3 separate regions of the Homo sapiens genome follow, and regions 1 and 3 are each linked to region 2. Evidence: promoter capture Hi-C in 16 types of primary human blood cells and fetal thymus (Javierre and others, 2016). All regions are on one chromosome and are shown on one strand. The core of a region is centred on a gene start or on the middle of the fragment in contact, and the rest is flanking DNA. Distances in the headings are between cores, read along the strand shown. Region 1 has its middle 84 kb from the start of EPC2. Region 2 holds the start of ORC4 (origin recognition complex subunit 4). Region 3 has its middle 100 kb from the start of EPC2.

Region 1 (3,446 bases), core at 428-2,927, 540 kb after region 2:
AGTGGGAGGATCACTTGAGCCTGGAAGGTGGAGGTTGCAGTTAGCCAAGATCGTGCCACTGCACTCCAACTTGGGTGACAGATTGAGACCCCATCTCAAAAAAAAAAAGAAACAAATATATAATAATTTCCCCATATAAATATTCTTAAAGAATAGCATGATTTTTAATGACTACATAGTATTCTATTACATGGCTATACTATGCTTGTCTGGGGCTTCAGGTTTGAAGTCACCTGGGCCCCACCATACCCCTGATCCCTGGAGAGGTCAAGCTGTCAGTCTTTCCATAGGCCCTGTTGGATGCCTGGCCGAGCAGCTTGAAATCCAGTCCAGCCCATCAGGGTTGGCTTCCTCTCCAAAATAGCCAGGAGCAGATACCTGGGCTTGGGCTGGTCTAACCCATCAGCTTTGAGCTTCCTTTTCTTCCTTTCTCGAGCCTGCCCTCCTCCCCCTGAAGTGCTTCTCCAGGGATTCTGGTGCATCTCACTGCCTTCTGACTGAAGAGCACCCTACCTGTGGCATCCCTTAACTGAGTGTATCACGATGAACTTGGGGCCTCCCCATTTATCACCACACCTCTACCCACCATCACTACCTCCTCTGTCCCTGCCTTGCTAGCTTGTACCTTGCAGAAGCTTCCAAATGTGCATCCTATATTAAGATGTTCTTAGCTTAACGTTATCCTCTCCCTGGGTTTTTGCAGCTGTAAGGAACTATTTCTTCGTATACCAGAAGAATAAGTCTCAGGAGTTTGGAGGAGAAACAAAACACCTATGTTCTTCTGTTCTGGTGAAGTCCTAGACTCTGTGTACTGAGACCTATCCCAAAGATCATTCCTTAAACTCAGGGGCAGATCTCTTGCTTGAGACCGGCCAAGGGATGGGAGTGACTTTTCAGGTCTCTCCACAGGCAGCCTCAGCCTTTTTCTTCCACTCTTTGTGGAGATGCCCAGGACTGTAGTGCAGCCCTGACTGGCACCAACAGCACTGGCTGTGTTCCCAAAACTGTCCCCAGCCACCTAATACATGGTGCAAGTTTCAGAGCCTTTTCTTCCCAGAAAATCTGTGCTAACTCAGGATCCTGAACAGCTGGGAGTGATTAAGCAGGAATCGAAGGGGCAGCATCTCGGGGAGGCAGGGCTTCAAGCTGGCCCTTGGCCTCCAGGAGTTGATGAATCTGTCTCCAGGCTGAGATAAGGGCCCCAGCTGGATGTTAACATATGCTCTGAGCAATGCTGGGCAGGGGAGAGGCAGCCCAGCCTCTAGGACCAGGGCGGCTGTGGGTGGCCCTGAAGGGACTGAGCAACTGGCCCTGACGTTCCCCTTCATGCCTTGGACACTTGTCCTTCTACTGGAATCTAGTCCGTTGCCTTGACTTAGAAACCTCACCAGACCTCTCAGGAGGTCAAGAGAAAGCGGGCCCCAGGACAGGCTCCTAGCAAAATCAGGGCTGGTCAAGAGGTCTCAGAGCTCGTGCTTCAGGCCACCAGCCAAGCTGCAAAGCCTTTTTCCCAGGGCATCTGTGAGAATTCAGGAGACAGGTAAGCCTTCGTAGGCCTGTTTGTGTTCCTAAGGAAACAAGATAATTTCTTGACTCAATTGTAGTTCCCTCACAGCCTGATTGGATAGCTATTATATTAATAGTTCCAACCTCTCTCTCTGGAATAGCCCCGCTGGAGCCCTCTTCCTGCAGAACCCCTCTACAGCTGCCTCCAATTCCTTCCTCCCTAAGGCTGCCCCAGGCCGGCATCTCTCCAGCAAACCCGCCCCGTAGCCTGCTCCCTCCCAGGCACGAGGCTACTGTATGGGAGGTTCTTTTCACAGCGCCTGGCTTGAGTAAAGATGGTCGAAGGTTCTTTTTCCCCCAGCTAGGGCTCCTTGAAGCCCCTTAAACTGTGGAAGGACTTCCAACGGCGGAGGGCATCTCCTCCTCTGTGTTCCTCAGAGGGAAAACCTGGGAGCGCCAAGAATGTGCTGGGACAGACCAGACTTCCTGCCTCAGGTGCCCTCTGACCTCCGGTAATTACAGCTTCGGAAGTGGTCGGCTCCCCATGTAGACATTGGAGATAATGAGCTCCGACTTCCTGGGGCTGCTGGAGGTTTAATTGGTTCATGGTGGCTAAGCGGTTGGCGATCCTGGCCTGGAATTCCGGCGGACGCTGCTCCATCCACAAGGTAAGGGGCAGCCCGAAGTGGGGACCTGGCTGGCTGCCAGCCTCAGCCGCAAGTTGCCTCTTCCCCCACTTCCTCAAGCTGTTCCTAAGTGTCCTGCTACTAGAACCTCTGTCTGGCATGGGTGGTCTATTCCCAGCCTCCTCGTATTGCCCCTTTCCTCACCTGGAATGTCCACTCCATATGTCCTTGTCTGTTGAATTTGAATCATGCCCTGCAGAAATCCCACAGTGCCAGAAGTCCTCACCGTTTATACCAGCCCTACTTGATTTCTCTTCTGTGAAGTCCTATGGACAGGCACTTCTCAAACTCTCATGTGTGGGGGAATCTTACTGAAAGGCAGATCCTGATTCAGAAAGTCTGGGCAGGGGCCTGGGATTCTGCATTTTTGCCAAGCCCTCCATGCTGCCTTTGCTGCTGGTTTGCATGAACACTTAAAGGGGCGGGTCATGGATCTTCCCGTCCCAGTGCCCAGGCCTATTTGTTTGTAGCACAGGCCTTTTCATTTCCCCCAAATGAAAATCAGTATTTCATTCAAATTTATAAGTTTAAGCTTAACATTTATTTGTAAAATCAATTAGACTGTTCAATAGATACAAAAATATGAAATTGAGTGCTATAGATGACAGTAGTCTTTTATCAGCTTCAGCTTCCAAATTTATTTCTGCATTTTATCTCTTAAACCTGGTATGCACAAATAGTTGGAAATACATATATTTTTTAATAACAGCTCATCTAGAAATTTGAGGAGATTCTTCAGAGTAGGTAATCTTGTTAGAAACTGTTCTCCTTTACAATTGCTGTGCCAGCAAGATTTAGTCCAAGTTCTCCACAAAACCATTTAATCTGACAGCAGCATTTAATCCTTTGGTGAGTACAATGTGTTAAAATTTAGTATGTAATCTACGCAAATCAATAAACATAATCCATCATATAAATAGAATCAAAGATAAAAACCACATGATTACCTCAATAGATGCAGAAAAGGCCTTCGACAAAATTCAGCAGCCCTTCATGCTAAAAACTCTCAATAAACTAGGTATTGATGGGATGTATCTTAAAATAATAAGAGCTATTTATGACAAACCTACAGCCAATATCATACTGAATGGGCAAAAACTGGAAGCATTCCCTTTGAAAACTGGCACAAGACAGGGATGCCCTCTCTCACCACTCCTATTCAACATAGTGTTGGAAGTTCTGGCCAGGGCAATCAGGCAGGAGAAAGAAATAAAGGGTATTCAATTAGGAAAAGAGGAAGTCAAATTGTCCCTG
Region 2 (3,332 bases), core at 639-3,138:
ATCAGGAATAGAATGGAGAGGGGAGCTTCTCAGGTGCCACAGACGTTCTAGTTCTTGACTGTGGCAGCGCTTACATAGAGTTCACACTTTATAGTTTTTCATTATACTATGTATCGATGTTTGTATGCTTAAATACTAAATGTATGGAAAAAGACACAAAATATTTAAAATTGTAGCTAAGGCACATTAACTGCCTTGCTGGTATTTTTTTTTTTCATTACAAAGTGGCAGACAATTGGTTACACTATAAAGACAGACAATTGGTTACACTACAAAGAAAATTTTAAAGCACAGGAGTCTAGTTTTGATTCCATCGGACATGATTACCGTACACAATACAGAAGATACTAAGGGCTAAGCAATGATGCATAAACGGGGTCCACTGCCCAAACTTACAGAAAGCAAAACGTGGAAAATTAGTAACTTTAACTGATAGTGTACACCTAAAGAACCTACACCGGCCGGGCGCGGTGGCTCACGCCTGTAATCCCAGCACTTTGGGAGGCCGAGGCGGGAGGATCATTTGAGGTCAAGAGATCGAGACCAGCCTGACCAACATGGTGAAACCCCGTCCCTACTGAAAACACAAAAAAATTAGCCAGGCGTGGTGGCACATGCCTGTAGTTTCAGCTACTCGGGAGGGTGAGGCAGGAGAACTGCTTGAACCCAGGAGACAGAGGTTGCAGTGAGCCGAGATCGCGCCACTGCACTCGTCTGGGAGACAGAGCGAGACTCCGTCTCAAAACAAAAAACAAACAAAAAGAACCCACCCAACAGAATTAAGTACCAACATAATAAATACGAAGAATTTTAGATTCTTGGTTTTTAAAAAACATACAAAGATGATATTCCTTCAAAATATCTTTACAAAACATATTGAGACTGTGATGCTTTATATTGATTGTATGAAAACAATGAAAAAGAACCAGCACTGTTTCACTATAAAAGCTTTACTAATGTAAATTTATAAATCCTTTCTTAAATATTTTGAGTTAATTCTAATTTTATGATAGAAATTCATTATTTTCAGCAAAAACAGCTGGCATTTGGGAAACCAAAGGCTCAAAAACTAAGAATAGTAACCAAAGAAACTTGACAAAACAGTCCTTTTAAAACTCTCATCTACACTATAAGGGGAAACTTTGATCACGTCCCTTCTCCTTCATCAATCGTAGAACTCAACATTAAGGACTACACAATCCCACATCCCTCTCCGAGAAAAAGCAAAGGCTTTGTGTTGTAGCAACAACGCAAGACATGGAGGGAAGCTCCACTCAAGACTTCCCTGCCTGCTCCTTCCCCAAAGCCACTCCAGAATACCAGGGAGGGTTGAGAGGTAAGGCATGAAGGGCGCAATATCCAATATGAGCAACGCGTGTGATGCATCTGGTCAAAATGCATACAGAGGACTTGTCTCTGTCCCTAGATAGAAGTCCTCCGTCCTGCAGTCATGAGGGTCAATTGCTGAGGCTTCACAGTTCCCTTCTCTCTTACACTCGGACCGTCACGCTCCTCACCTACTACCCCGATGCAGAGGTAGACTCAGGATCCCTGCACTTGTCAAGGATTCCTCGGCAAGCTCACGGGGCGGGAGTGGCCACAAGACGGAGCTCGCCTGGTCCTGGCCTTCCCGGCCTATACAAGCCTGCCCCCTTCCCAATTCCCAATCTCCACAGCCTTCCATCCTCCCACTTTCGATTCACCTTGCGCCACCGACGCCCCTGGCCTTCGTTTGCAGCAAGTTTACCCCCACCATTACCTCTCGCATAAAAGCCTGCATTTACCAGGTCAAAGAGGGGAACCAACGCCTGCAGGAATCGCTTCACCGAATCGCCTGGCCGCGTCCTCTGCTAGACTTCACCTGCCGCTGCGGACCGTACACAACCACTCCCGGCATGCCCCGCGCACGCACTACCTCTCCCACCCCGCCCCTCTCCCGCCCAAACACGTGACCTCCTTTCGTCTCCGTCCACGCCCACTTCCGTTCCTCCACTTTCCCTTAGGAAGGAGGAGGGAGCTGGGGGTGTTAAAAGCGTAGCGACTTCCTCCTCCTCCCCGCCCCCGCTCCTGTACCTCCCGCTACAATGTCTTCCGGGTCGCTAGCGCCTCGACGCCTTCTGGGAAAATAGCTCATTTCCTCCCCTCCCCCTCCTCCTGCCTTCAACCAACCAGCCACCCGTCAGAGAGGGACATGCGCAGTGAGTGCCTCCCGTCTCTTCTACCCGAACCCCCCCTCCCCCCCAAGCAGAGAGACCCCAGCAGCAGCAGCAGCTGATGATGAAGAGAGAGGCAGTGGCAGAGGGGGGGCACCTTTTATTTCTATTTTTAAAGGGACAGGACACTAATTCTACCCCACTTCAACCTTGAATTCAGGGGGGTGGGGGGAAGGCGGCTGAGTTCCTTCCCCCACCCTCCAGCCCTGAGCCCTGAGAGGGGGATTGAGCCTGAGAGAGGAGAAGGAGTTTCTTCTTCTTCGAAAACCCCCATCCACGACTCCTACCCCCTCACCCCTCCAACTCGCCTCCCTCCCTCCACCCTCCTCCTCTTTGGCCGTGAGAGGAGGAGAGAAAGAAACCAAAAGCCTCTTAGCAACACAGACCCTTTGCTGCTGCTGTTGCTGCTGCTGCTGCTGTTGCTGCTGCTGCTGCTACTGCTGCTGCTGCTACTGCTGCTGCTTGGCCCTGGCTGGAGACATCTCACTACACCCAGGAGCAGCCACTTCCCCAGCTCTCCTCCTCCTCCTTCGCCTCCTCCTCCTCCACTCCCCCCCTTTATTACCCTTTGTGTCATCCTCCACAGCTCCAGGGAAGGCACTCAAAAGTGGGGGGCAGGAAAGGTAAGTGTGTCTGTGGGGGCTTCATTGCCTTCCTCTGGCTCTGACTTTCACTCCGGGGCAACAGTAGCACCAAACCACATACGCAGTGGAGCTCCGGGGTGAGGAGGGGGTGGTGCTGGGGGGGGTGAAGGAGGGGTTGGAGTAGGGAGGGGTGTGTGAGGTGGGGTGCCCATCCTGTCAGGGGAGGAAGGGCACTTTTATTTTTATTTGCTGTTGTCAAAAGTGGTTTCTCTCCTCCATCTAACATCTGATTGTGTCTTGCTCCAGTGGGGGAGAATACAAAAACAACCCCCTCCTTCCTCCAATGAGGCGCCAGGGAAAGAGACAGAAAGAGGCACACTTTCTAGATGTCACTTAAAAAAAATTCATTGGAGAGCTCTTTTTCTCCAGGAAAAGCTCCACTGCATTTGTTTCTGAGTGGGAAAATGTCGGGATCTGGATTGTATTGGAACTGCTTATCCATTTGTAGACCTGAGTGTTTTCCCCTTTTTGGTCC
Region 3 (3,716 bases), core at 440-2,939, 520 kb after region 2:
CAGGGCGCCAAACAAGGAGAATTGGGCAGCTAACTCCCTGAACTCCCTGATGGCTTACAGGTAAGGGTTTTTAAAAGCGAAGAGGCAGAGGTTACAGGCAAAGTCATAAATCAGTGCATGGAGGTTATACACTGATTTGACCTAAAAAGGCTTGACATCTCAAAGAGGGTCAGAGGTGGATTCAAAGATTTTCTGATCTGCAAGTGGTTCAGGAGGCAAAGCTTTGTCTAAAAATTTGAGCTCAGCAGCCTGGGCAACAAAGCAAGACCCTGTCTACACACACACACACACACACATACATATATAAATTGGTGCAACGGCTCACACTCATAATCACAGCTCTCAGGAGGTTGAGGCAGGAGGATTGCTTGAACTCAGGAATTGGAGGCTGCAGTGAGCTATGATCACCACTGCCCTCCAGCCTGGACGATAGAGTGAGACTCTATCTAAGATAAAAAAATAAAATAATAAAATAAACTTGGGATCAGTAGGAAAGAGTGTTAGTTCTGGCCTAGGGTTGTGACCTCCTCCAGGGCCCTGAGGAAGAAATTGACAGTAGTCAGAGTTCAGTCCTCAGTTCCCCCTTATCTGAGGTCTTTGTGCCAGTGGATGCAAAGTCTGCAGGAGACTGGGTGTCTAAACAAAGTCTGCAGGAGACTGGGTGTCTAAACAACCACTCGGGGGCACGTGTTAAGATGCGTTCTTTAATTTCTAGAGGGAACCAAACATCCCATGATTCTAGCTCCTTGGCTGTTCTTTTAACCTACTATTTACCTTCTTGCTTATCAAGTTGCTTACTTACTTCTCAGGGCCAGCTAGGTGCCTAGAATTCCCCTTGAGGAAACCCAGGAGTTTCCTTTGTTTCCATGTTTTTTGGCGATGGCGAGGTGCCTGCTAGGCCTCTAAGAGGGTTCCCTCCTTTGTCTCATTCTCACAGCAATCCACAGCAGCAAAGGCCGGGCACAAGTTTCCTATCAGCCCCTTGGAAGGTGACACTTAATCTTGTGTCCGGAACTTCAAGTTAATGTCATTCAAAGCAGGATGGTGTGACATTAGGAAAAACTGTCTGGGTCGAAATGGTGCCAGGGTATGCCAATGTTTCCACCTTCTGAGAGACCCCTCGTACCACTGCCTGCCTCCTGCATTCCAAACAACACGGGTGACTGCAGGATCCGGGGTCCCCTCCCTTTTCTCTCAAAATAAGGAAACGGAGATCCAAAAAGGTTTAATAGCTCATTCCACCAGTTAGGGAGAATGCTCACTCAGCCTTGGGTTTGTTAGAAGAGTCTTGGTTACTTACAAAGATTTATCTCTTTGTTGTAAAAAACACAGTGGCTTGAAGGATATGAAAATTTATGACATAGGAGGCTGAGTTGGGCTTATCACTTGAGGTCAGGAGTTTGAGATCAGCCTGGCCAAAATGATAAAACCCATCTCTATGAAAAATACAAAAATTAGCCAGGCGTGGTGTTGGGAGCCTGTAGTCCCAGCTACTCGGGAGACTGAGACAGGAGAATCGCTTGAATCCGGGAGGTGGAGGTTGCAGTGAGCCGAGATTGTACCACTGCACTCTAGCCTGGGCAACAGAGTGAGACTCTGCCTCAAAAAAAAAAAAAAAGAAAGAAAGAAAAAAGGATGAAAATTTATCCTTGAGGGGAATTGAGCGATAAGGTGGCCTTCAGGGTTGTTTGATCTGTCAGCTCAACACTGCTGCCGAGGACTTGGGCTTCTCCCAGCTTTCTGCTCTGCTGCTTAGCACATTGGCTTCATCCTGAAGCTGGTTTTCTTCCAGGTTGCAGCATGGTTGCTGGTGGTACCTGAGGCCACCTCCTTTCTCCCTCCTGTCTAGCTGAGTAGGAGAGTAGGGAGAACAGTTCTCAGAGACCCACCAAACCTCTCCTTCTATGCCGCGTCCTTCTAGAACTAATCATCGGCAGGAAGGTTGGGCTCACTCTGATGGGCTGAGACTAATCAGGGCTGGAGGTGGGAATGGGTCACCTTCCCTTGAGACACAGGGCTGTGTGTGAGGAGATGACACCTGCATGAAATCAAGCGGTTATTTTAGGAAACAGCAAAGGAGCAAGAGATTCTGGGTGACCATCCCAGGGCCCAGTACAAGCTCTGACTGTGATGGACACTACAGGGCTACAGAAAAATATTGTTTTATTTACTTTTTAAACACTTTATCATGGAAATTTTCAAACATATAAAAAGTGGACAAAATAGCATAACAGATCATCCTGTACACATAATCCAGTCTCAATAATTATCAACTCAGAGCCTATTTTTTAAATCAATTTTCCTGCCCACGTTCCTCTCCAATGTATTAAAATCTCAGATATCAGCCAGGCACAGTGGCTCAGGCCTATAATCCCAGAACTTCGGGAGGCCAAGGCAGGCAGATTTCTTGAGCCCAGGAGTTCAAGCCCAGCCTGGGCAACATGGCAAAACCCCATGTCTACAAACAAACAAAAATTGGCTGGGCATGGTGACACACACCTGTAGTCCCAGCTACTTTGGAGGCTGAGGTGAGAGGTTTGCTGCTTGACTCTAGGAGGTCCAGGCTATAGTGAGCCAAGATCGTACCACTGCACTCCAGCCTGGGTGTCAGAGTAAGACTCTGTCTCAAAACAAAACAAACATCCCAGACATCATATCATTTCAGCATGTAACTTTATTTCATGCATGTAACTTTAAAAGACAAATTATTTCAGCATGTAACTTTAAAAGACAAAGACTCTTTTTAAGACAAAATCATAGCTCACCTAAAAAGTGATTAATCAAAACTAATTAAAAGTAATTTCTTAACATCTTCAAATTATGTAGTCAGTGTTCAAATTTCCAACTTTCTTATATGTGACAAAATTTCTTTCTGCAATGCATTCAAGGGTAAGTTCTTAGAGATCAGTCTTGTCCTTATCTTTCAAAATAAGGAAATAGAGATCCAAAAAGGTTTGATAGCTTACCCCAAGGCCATTAGATTTATTTTAATTGATCATTTTATCCTGCCTTTTTTCTTGATGTATTTGAGGCAGATCATCACGCAGTGGAAGACCCAAAAATTCATTCATTCATTTAGCAAATGTGGTTTGAGCATCAGCTCTGTGCTTAATTCGGCCAGTGTGGTCACAGCACTGGGATCTGTAATCAGAAGACGTAAGCTTCTACTCACAGGGCTTCTGCCTATGACATTAGGCAAGTCTCCCCTGTCCATCTGTCTTGGTGCCTGAAATCCCCATGAGAGTCACTCTTTTGAGTTAGGGAGTTGTGGGAGGCCCCCCTTATGAATGTACACACATATTACTTTACTGGATAGTTGTTCTTTCGGGATGCCGACATTGAACACTCGTCCTATTTTGGAGAAATCCTAGAATAGGTGGTGGGGATGGGGCAGTGGGGGAGAAAGGGCTCCTCCCTCACTACAGAAACAAATGGATGCATGGTCTTTTCCCATTCCAGGCAGCTAGAGAGGGACGCTGGGTCTGGGGCTTGCAATCAAGTGCCGCAGCCCGAATCATCAAGCTTGAAGGAGTGACACAAAGGCCTGGGGCCACTGAAGATGACCCACGGGTGCCTCTGCCAAGGCCAGTCCAGGGCAGTTGTGTTGAGTGTCCAGAGCCACCAGGGTGGCACCAAGATGATGGTCCCCCAGGAGCCACCTCTGCTCAGCCTGGCCTTGTCTGCTTCCACAGCAACGTGGTTCCTTCCCATCCGTC

The links. The method cuts DNA at HindIII sites, captures the fragments that hold promoters and counts their contacts. A CHiCAGO score of 5 or more calls a contact.
Region 1: a contact is called between a fragment that was not itself captured here and the fragment with the promoter of ORC4 in region 2, in 4 of 17 cell types (naive CD4 T cells, naive CD8 T cells, activated CD4 T cells and 1 more). The highest score is 8.0, in naive CD4 T cells.
Region 3: a fragment that was not itself captured here is called in contact with the fragment with the promoter of ORC4 in region 2 in 6 of 17 cell types (fetal thymus, naive CD4 T cells, total CD8 T cells and 3 more); the score reaches 10.4 in fetal thymus.

What each region holds. Positions count from the first base shown.
Region 1 is chr2:148,559,489-148,562,934 of GRCh38, forward strand. No RefSeq gene overlaps it. Among named protein-coding and RNA genes, the nearest start is that of EPC2, 84 kb to the right of the region's middle. RefSeq lists an enhancer at 782-1,733. The HindIII fragment of the contact is 2,089 bases long and covers 634-2,722 here.
Region 2 is chr2:148,018,849-148,022,180 of GRCh38, forward strand. It overlaps ORC4 (origin recognition complex subunit 4), which reads right to left and starts at 1,889. Exons shown (of 14, transcript NM_181741.4): 1 at 1,785-1,889. MBD5 (methyl-CpG binding domain protein 5) reads left to right here and starts at 2,243. Exons shown (of 14, transcript NM_001378120.1): 1 at 2,243-2,836. RefSeq lists enhancers at 1,534-2,131, 2,311-2,410 and a silencer at 1,801-1,960. The HindIII fragment of the contact is 3,631 bases long and covers 947-3,332 here.
Region 3 is chr2:148,541,878-148,545,593 of GRCh38, forward strand. No RefSeq gene overlaps it. Among named protein-coding and RNA genes, the nearest start is that of EPC2, 100 kb to the right of the region's middle. RefSeq lists a silencer at 931-1,124. The HindIII fragment of the contact is 2,940 bases long and covers 220-3,159 here.